2 separate regions of the Homo sapiens genome follow, and region 1 is linked to region 2. Evidence: promoter capture Hi-C in human tissues and cell types (Jung and others, 2019). All regions are on one chromosome and are shown on one strand. The core of a region is centred on a gene start or on the middle of the fragment in contact, and the rest is flanking DNA. Distances in the headings are between cores, read along the strand shown.

The links. Contacts are between HindIII fragments. The study calls those that stand out against the background at their distance.
Region 1: a fragment that was not itself captured here is called in contact with the fragment with the promoter of NEDD1 in region 2 in 1 of the 25 tissues and cell types used here (dorsolateral prefrontal cortex).

Annotation. Positions count from the first base shown.
Region 1 is chr12:98,361,210-98,365,576 of GRCh38, forward strand. No RefSeq gene overlaps it. Among named protein-coding and RNA genes, the nearest start is that of TRD-GTC1-1, 140 kb to the right of the region's middle. The HindIII fragment of the contact is 6,943 bases long and covers 1-4,367 here.
Region 2 is chr12:96,904,928-96,909,846 of GRCh38, forward strand. NEDD1 (NEDD1 gamma-tubulin ring complex targeting factor) reads left to right here and starts at 2,330. Exons shown (of 16, transcript NM_152905.4): 1 at 2,330-2,373; 2 at 2,677-2,929; 3 at 4,825-4,919. The coding sequence starts at 4,833. RefSeq lists a silencer at 2,363-2,642 and enhancers at 2,883-2,972, 3,013-3,152. The HindIII fragment of the contact is 14,202 bases long and covers 1-4,919 here.

The sequences.
Region 1 (4,367 bases), core at 60-2,559, 1.5 Mb after region 2:
GGGGGTGTGCATGGTTTGTATGTGTGGTAGGTGTGCATGCATATGGTAGTGTGTGCACATGGTGTTTCTGTGTGTTGTCTGTATGCAGTGTATGAGTATGGTGTGTGTTCACACATGTGGTGGGGAGGTATGCGTGGTTTGTATGTGCACATGCATACATGCATGTATGGCTTTGTAGGTGTACATGCATATGGTAGTGTGTGTGTGTGTGTGTGTGTGTGGTTGTGTGTTGTCTGTGTGTGGTGTATAAGTATATAGGGTGTGTGTTCATGCATGTGGTGGGGGGTATGCATGGTTTGTATGTGTGGTAGGTGTGCATGCATGTGGTAGTGTGTGCATGTGGTAGGTGTGTATATGCATGAACACACACTCATATGACCATATACTGCTACGACCTACAGAGTTCTTCATACACCCTGGAATTCAAGTGTGTTCTACAAGTGTCTTATATATCTGTGGCACATGTGTCCATTTGAGCTGCCTGTGGCAAGACACTGCCTAGACACTGCATTAGAGCCAATCATAGCTATTTAAGAGAAAAGACAAAACACTTAACCTAAGTGCCAAACACACAGTGGTCATTCCATTTGGTAAATGTATTTGAAAAAGAAAGGTCGGGAGAAGGAAAGATGATTCCAAAGAATCTCAAAATTAGGATTTTTCCTCAAAAAGAATGTTAGAATTTAAGGGATAATGCTAATTAGTCACACCTCTTCCCTTACGGGTTCTGAACCCATTGAGGAGACAGACTCAGATCTACAGAGCTGAAATGATCAGCTATGTTTCCAAAAAGGCTGCCTTGGAGAATTTGCCTTGACCCATGACCAGAACTGATTTGCCAACAAGGAGGCCAGGCCTCCCCTAGCTCCAAAGAGCAGAGCAGCCCTACTGAATCTAAGAGACAGAGGGGCAAGGAGGGGACAAGTGCTGAGGACAGGTTGCTGGGAAAGAGAGACCCAGAGGGGCTGAACTCCACACCCCATGACCTTCTTCCCAGCCAGGGTAGGGACAGGGTAAAAGGACAGGGGCTTTCCTCCCAAGTCTTCCATTCTTCATAAGGTGGAAATTCCTACTTCATGGATCAAGGCAGAAAAAACAAAACAAAACAAAAGAGAAAGAAAATGATTTTTTTATGACTCCAAAGATATTGTTTTCTCAGTTCAACAGGCTGAAGCATCCAGGCTGTGGCCAACTAAGACTGAATGCAGGGTGTGGAGTCCCCATGGTGGAGTCGCCGGTGGTTAACCCAGACACCCTCATGAGGCCACTTCTTCAACACCAGTCACCAATCCTCTGTTTCCTCCCAGGATTGCTGGTAAGCAATTTCACTTCTGCCCTCCAAAGGAACAAAACCTGTTCATTAAATAACCCACAGGGTTATTTATTTAATGAGCCCACAAATTTTATTTCCAATTCTATTCTCACCTTTAATCATGTCCAGCAATGTGAAGGTAAGTTCGTTTCCTTCTCCTTGCATTTCTGCATGTTACTGTGTCCTTCCCACAGAGTACAACTCCTGACCCCTCCCACCCCTTTCTTACTTCCCAAACGTGGAGAATCCAGACATCTGCTTGGATGAGTGGGAGGAATCCACATTTACTCCCCAGATGGGTTACATCACATGCCTCCTTCACATGTAGCCTCTCCGTCCACACCATCGGGGACCCCACAGTTGGCCAGAGCAATCACTGACCCAGACTCTCCCCATGGTGGGTTGTCCCAACATCTCAGCTTAAGAAAAAAGGATAGAAACCCTGTGTGGCAATGGTTCAAAACTGTGTCCTCCAGTCCACTGCTAGCAGCAGAAAATCCAATATTTTGCCTTCATCTAAATTCTACATTTTTTTTCCTCAATTGATTTTTAACTAGGAGAAGAATCAGAAGTAGGATATTAATGATTTCCTTCAACCCCGATAAAAGATGCCAGTTACATAGACTAGGGAAAGAGAGAGAGGGGAGTCTGCATTTCTTTTGGAGTTGGTGTGATGTTGATATCATTTTTCCCAGTGGCTTTCAGGCTTGTGAAGCCCACCGATTCTTCATAACACCTCTCTTTGTGCTCATTCCCCTTCATTTTCATCATCATTTCCAGGCTTTTATTGCCTCTCAACAGACTTTTGCCACCACCTCTGTATTAGTCGCATTGCTATAAAGAAATACCTGAGACTATGTAATTTATAAGAAAAGAAGTTTAATTGGCTCACAGTTCCACAGACTGTAGAGGAAGCATGGCAGCATCTGCTTTGGGAGAGGCCTCAGGAAGCTTCCAATTACAGCAGAAGGCAAAGAAAGAGCCAGTAATTTACATGGCCAGAGCAGGAGGAAGAGAGAGGGTAGGGAGAGGCGCCACACACTTTGAAACAACCAGATCTTGTGAGAACTCACTCACTATCATGAGAAGAGCACTGAGGGGATGGTGCTAAACCATTCATGAAGACTCTGCCTCCATGATCCAATCACCTCCTACCAGGCTCCACCTCCAAACATTGGGGATGATGCAGATCCAAATCATATCAACCTCCAACTGGGGTCCCAGGATCTAGTTTTGAGCCCCCCTCCAAACTAGCATACACATAATTGTCATATTTAATCTCCCTAAAACTTTTCTCTTTAAAGGAGAATCCCCTGGTCAGGCATATGCAAAGACACCTGTCACACTAGAAGACTGAGCCCAAAATCCTATCCTACTTAGCACAATCCTCCACCACCATGTCTCTTCCAAATGCACCTCTGTTTCTGCAAATCCTCTCCTCCTAACAAACCCAGACATACTTATATGAGTTCCTCTCTCTCTACTTTTACACTAATGTCACATCTTAAGTAAGTTAAACCGATTAGAATTCAGCCTTATGCAATCTTCCCACCACTCCAATCATTCCTCCATTCCCCTGTTTGGCCCATGAGACAAACACAGACGGTGTCTCCTTGTGAATAATATTTATTCTGCTGCTGACTGTTCTCCTCTAATTCAACACCAGCACCTCATCCTCGCTCTTCAATATTTGACATGCATTGAGACCAGCATAGCTAGGGGCATCTGAATGTAGACATGATCACTCCTCCAGCGTCAAGCTCACTTGGGCTTGTCCTCAGCAAAGCTGAGAGCTCAGTGATGCCAAAGTACAGTCCACAGACGTGAAGGCCCACCTTCCTTGCTCCTCCACCAGCCTTCAGTTGCCTCATGGATCTGGTAGTACAAACATCTTGCCCTGCTGATTTGACTCCAGTGACTAAAGCAATGCTATTTTTGTTCAACACCATCCCAAACACAGACCAACTATAGAAATGTGAAGGCTAGAAGGGGCTATGTAGTCCAAAGAAGTAGCAATCTATACTAACTCTGTAGGGAAGAGTGACCGTGCTGAACTTGAAGACAGAAGCCACATGCACATCACAGAATTGATATGAGAGCTTATACTTTGTGGTATACTTCAAGGAATTTTAAGAGTAAAATCTGACTTTCCGTAAATTCAAAGTAATGTGCTCCCCTTTTGAATGCAACCCTTACATTTCCTATGACACTACTGTGCCTGCTCCAAGTGTCCAACCCAATCTCCCCATGTCAATCCCCAGTTGCAGTCCCACCTATTTCTCAGTCCTCACCCTGACCACTAAGCCCTCAGTGATCTCTCCCTCCTCTGAACTCACTTGATACCAGTAGTGTTTCCCTGGCATGTAACTTATGCAACCTTGTATCATTATCCATCTGATTATGGGGGGTGTATGTGTATGTAGTCAATCTCTCTGAAGAGATTATAAACCCCTGAAAGACAGAGACCTTATCTCTTAGTCTTTGCACTTCTACCATCCAGCCACAGTAAGTTCTGGGTAAACACACGTGATGATAATGAATAAATAAAAAAATCCAGTTCTTTGGAAAGACCCCAAAGTCAAGGTGCCAAGGAAAATGTTTGCATATTCTGTCTACCTAGAAAATGCCTGCTCATTCTTCATGATCCAGACCAAATGCTAGCTTTTCTTTGGTGTCATTGAAACAAACACAGACTTTGCAATCAGCTAGAGAGGGATTCAAATTTTCTGTACAACAACTGGATAAGTGATTTTGAATGGAAGTTGTCACTGAGCATTGGTTTCTAATTCTATTAAATAGAAATAGTGAGTTCACCTTAGAGAGCCAGAAAAAATAAAATCATATATAGACAGTATCTAGAACAAGGTAGGCATGAAATCAATGGCAATTAGTAATATTCACTGTCTTTCTCTTGTGCTCCCATGCACTTTGCCCATGTTGCACTACCACTTTACACACTGCATTGTGAATATCTGGGTCTGCATCTAGCTCCTCCACTCTTCTGGGAGCTTTCCAAGGGGAGGGATTATCCTACCTTTGTGAGTGCTTATTTCAT
Region 2 (4,919 bases), core at 1,080-3,579:
TATTATTAATATTTGTGATTTGATTTTTTCCTTCACCTATGGGTTATTAGAAGTAAGGTTGTTTTATTTCACGTTTGGGGCTTTTCTAGATGTGTTATTGTTTTTTATTTATATTTAATACTGTTGTGATCAGAGAGTATTGTCTGTAAGATTTATTCTGTTAAAAATCAATTGACTTGTTTTATAGCCCAATATATGCTCCATTTTCATGTGTATTTGAAAAGAATGTTTATCCTGCAGTAGTTGGCTATAGTGTTCTATAAATGTCAGTTAAAATAGTTGATAAGTGTACAGATCTTCCACATCTTTTCTGATTTGTTTTTCTTATCTGGATGTTCTATGAATTACTGAGAAAATTCTGTCAGTCTCCAACAATGACTATGGGTATGCTTTTTTCCTCCTTTAGCTTTGATACTTATTCTTCATATATTTCAAAATTCTCTTACGTTCACCTATACACTTAAAATTGATAATGGCTTGTGGTTATTTACCATTTTATCATTATGAAATATTTCTCTTTGTCTCTAGAAATATTCTTTGTTGTGATGGCTACTTTTGGAAATCTGTATATGTTTATATAATTCATATATTAGCAAGGCTTCTAACATTTGGCATCTATTGTTCGTTAAACTATTATACAGAACTGAGGAAACAGTGTATACATAGGCACAGAGGCACGGACAAAAATGACAGGACTGTTTCAGGGCCAGTAAGATTTGATGAGGCCGCAGCATCAGTGAGGACAGAGGAATGGAGGTTTCCATTTGGCCCTATACGCTGTGTTATGGCTCTTGACTGTATAGCATAAAGGTCTGGGACAGTCTTTGCAGTCTCATGGTCCCAGGTTTAACTTCTGAATCTACCATTTATTAAACTTGTAACCTTGGACAAGTTACTTAACCTCTATTTCCTCATATGTAAAATGGGGACAAATAATAGCACATACTTCATGTGTTTTTAGAAAGATGAAATTATATATATATTGCATACATACACATTACGTCTATATACACAAATACAGTGCTTAGTAAAGTGTTCAATAAATATCTATTTTTATATGTATAACTAGTATTATATCATATAATATGTATATATTATATTACATGTATTATTATATATATTTTCATATAGTCTAGTCTCAATTTTCCTGCTGGCTTCAATTTTCAGAGATTTAATTAATTGCCCTTTTTGTTTGAAGTTTTCTTTTCTCCATTTGCTCCCATTCTCCCTGCCCCCACTCCCTTACCGTACTTTCTTAGTTCCCAACTTTCTGGGCCTCCTCCCTGCCCAAATTGGATTTCATAGCCTCAAGAACTGCAGACTGTACAATTAAGGTAGTTGCTGCTTGCTATCTTTCTCCTTTTGCCACTCCCCCATGAACCTCAGTAACTTGGCTACGATTTCAATTTCTGCTCTGAAAAAATGCACTTATTAGAATTTTCCAATTATCTGCAATATGAATGCAGATAACTGGGGCTGATGTACCTAGTTCAGAAACACACCCCATGTAGTTGTGATGAAAGAATAACACTTTTTGCAGAAGAAATGCTCTATATTTATGATAAATATTCTTAGCAAAAATTGTCAGTAGAGCTATAAAAGGACCTTTGGAAGGGGCACTTGAAAACTCGGCTCAGCAACTTCCTTTTCCACCTTGAAGTATCCCCTTCAAAAGAATTCCCAAACAGATGATGTTTGATGTTCCGGACCTCGCAGCATGATGCGAAAGAAAGATCATGGGTTTTGAAGTAGGTTAGTGCAGACGCCTACTCTTTGGGTTATTTCTCAGCCTGAGCGCGTTTCCTGGCTTGTAAATCGCATGTAGGAATCCTTTCCTAAATCCACATCCACAATAGTTTCCCTTATTATGGGTCTTCGTGCATCTTATACCTTTCATTATCATAGTTTCACTTTCCATTTAAGCATCTAATAACGTCAGCTTCCTATAGTGCATTGTAAGCTCCACAAGGCCAAGGACCACGAGAATTCACTGTACCCCTGTATCCCCAGGCTAAACCATCACTGTACACTCAAGAGTCTAGCACAGTGCCTGGCACACAGTAAACAGCAAGTGAATGACAAGCAGTTGGCAGTGGCCGGAGCTCCGTCGCTGGGGCGTGGAGAGGGCCGCCCCGGCCCGCAGTTCCCGCCCTGACACTGGGATAACTTCCCCCGCGGCTGCCCAGCGCCGCCCTGACCAGACCCTCTGTACCCCGACTTCTGTCCGGCCAGAAGCCACAGCCGCACGCAGCGCCTCGCCCCGTGACGTCACTCGGGGCGGGACTTCCGGCCGCCGAAGTTTAACAGTCCAGGCGGGAGCCGGAAGCCCAGCGCGGAGCCGGCCGCGGCCCCCTGTTGTGTTGCTGCGGAGAGGTGAGGTTCCGGAGGCCCTGAGGTCAGCGGGCCCCCGCCCGCCGCGTCCGCGCACCCTCCCGATCCTAAGACCCGCTCCGTCCCCCTCAGAGGGCGGGGCGGCGGTCCTTGGGCTTTGCGCGCCCGGAGCGGTTGCTGGGCGGGGGCGCGGCGGCGCGCTGGGCTGGGAAGTGTCCGGGGAGGCGCGGGCCGGGGTCGCGCACCTCCCGGAGCCTTGTGGGGTGTGCTGCCTCCGAAAAGTTTGCCTCGTCTCCACAAGTCTGTCTCCTTTTTTGTCAACCTCAAGTACTTTTCTTTTGGCAGGTACTTGGATGCATTTTACAGGTTAGCCTCACTTGAGCTGTTGTCCTGCAAGTAAAGTGTATTTTTGGTGATTGAAAGTTGGAGAACTTTCATTTCAGCTGAGTGGTGTAGTTGAATTGGTTCCTGTAGCCGCTGTCCCTAAACCCAGGCCGACGTTACCGCCTTGTGTCCTGACTGCTAGCTTTCGACGGGACCGTCTTTGAGGGACTCATGTAAAGTCTCTCCCTTAATGCTCAGTTCTTAGAAGACCGAGGTAGGTGGGCAGATGGTCCTCTTCCCCGCCCCGCTTTAAGAGCCGAAAACAAACATTAAATCACCCGGCGAGTTGTGTTTCCTAAGTTGGAGCAGGTCGTTTGAACCCAGTTTTTCTGAGCCCAGGCCTCAGTGATCTACCCACTACACCCCGCAGCTCACCAGGCCTGGTTACGATGCAGTTAGACACAGCTTGCAGTTGTGGTTTACAGGGCTTAGAGCTCGCTTTTCCAGCAATTCATTAGTTGTTCCTTGACTTGGGAACCAAGGGGGCACGTGTTACACATGTTTAAGGCTCCAAATCCAAACATTGTGTTACATCTCTGCAGGTGACTTTAATGGCTTTTAGTAGCACTGTATCGGATGAATGGAGCATAAGGAAGCACATGAGTGAATTACATTAACTTTTTGTCTCGAGAATGAAACGTTTCTATAATTCTGTCTTTAACTTGTCCTCTGAAATGGCTTATACTAGACGTAGGTGTGCTGTTGTATTGGTGACTCGGGGACCTGCCTGTGACATCACTAATGCTGTGCAGTAGTCTTGCACTTTCCATACTAGGAAGGTGTGGGAGGTATAATTCTGTGCCCTCTCCCTTTCCTTTTCTCCCATGTACTTTTGAGCATCTTTTTTTCTCACTTATCGTTCATTACTACCTGTTGCTCTTTAAAGTGCCTGTCTAGAGCAGCTTCTTTGCCTTCTGTTTTCTAGACTTCCTTGGTTTGTGAAATCACCTTGTTAGAATTACGTGTTTCAGCTGTATGCTCTGAATAAATGATTGAAGGCATCGTAGTCCAAGTATTGGTATAGGGACTTAGTGGCGTCTCATTTGACCATATTGCTAATTTTAGAGTTTTGGAAAAACTGGTGTGACTGGATTCTGACCTGCAGAAATGCTAGTTTATCATACTTTTTTTAAAAATTAGGAAGTTACTTATTAGTAGTTATTTGTTGTGAAACTGCTGTGTGCCAGGAATGTTTCAAGACTCTGGTGTGGGGAGACAGACATTATAAGAACAAATAAAAATTTCAGATAGTGGCTGGGCACGGTGGCTCACGCCTGTGGTCCCAACACTTTGGGAGGCTGAGGCGGGCAGATCACCTGAGGTCAGGAGTTCGAGACCAGCCTGACCAACATGGAGAAACCCCGTCTCTACTAAAAATACAAAATTAGCCGGGTGTGGTGGTGCATGCCGGTAATCCCAGCTACTCGGGAGGCTGAGGCAGGAGAATCACTTGAACCTGGAAGGCGGAGGTTGTGGTGAGCCGAGATCACACCATTGCACTCCAGCCTGGACAACAAGAGTGAAACTCCGTCTCAAAAAAAAAAAAAAAAAATTCAGATATTAGGAAGTGCTATGAAAAAAATGAAATCAGGTATTGGGATATAGGGTAAACTGCTAAGTCCCTTACCAGGTAAGGAAGGGACTGCGTTAGCCAGGGTGGTCAGGAAAGGCCTTTCATAGGAGGAAACATTTGAGCTAAGACCTGAATGATGAGAAGGAGATGACCATGGGAATCTGGGGAGAACATCTTAGGCACAGGGAGCAGCAAATGAAAAGACACTGAGGTGAGAATGACTTTGCCTTTGCATGAGGCAGAGAGAAGGCCAGTGAAAAGAAAGAGGAGAGTTACATGGGGGCCAGGACATGTAAGGCAGGCTAAGGAGGCTGGATTTCATTATCATTACTGTGAGGAGCCATTGGAAGGGTCAGCTAAGAGAATGCGACCTGGCTTATGTTTTAGGAAAATCACTTCAACTGCTTTGGTGACTGCACTGTTTGGAACAAAAATGAATGAGTTAGAGCCACTTGTTTTAGATTAGATTTTGACCTTTTTTTGAGTATGTCTATTCTTAAATGTTTTTAAAATACATTGTTTTAAACTATTTGTAGGCGCAGTCATGCAGGAAAACCTCAGATTTGCTTCATCAGGAGATGATATTAAAATATGGGATGCTTCATCTATGACATTGGTGGATAAATTCAAC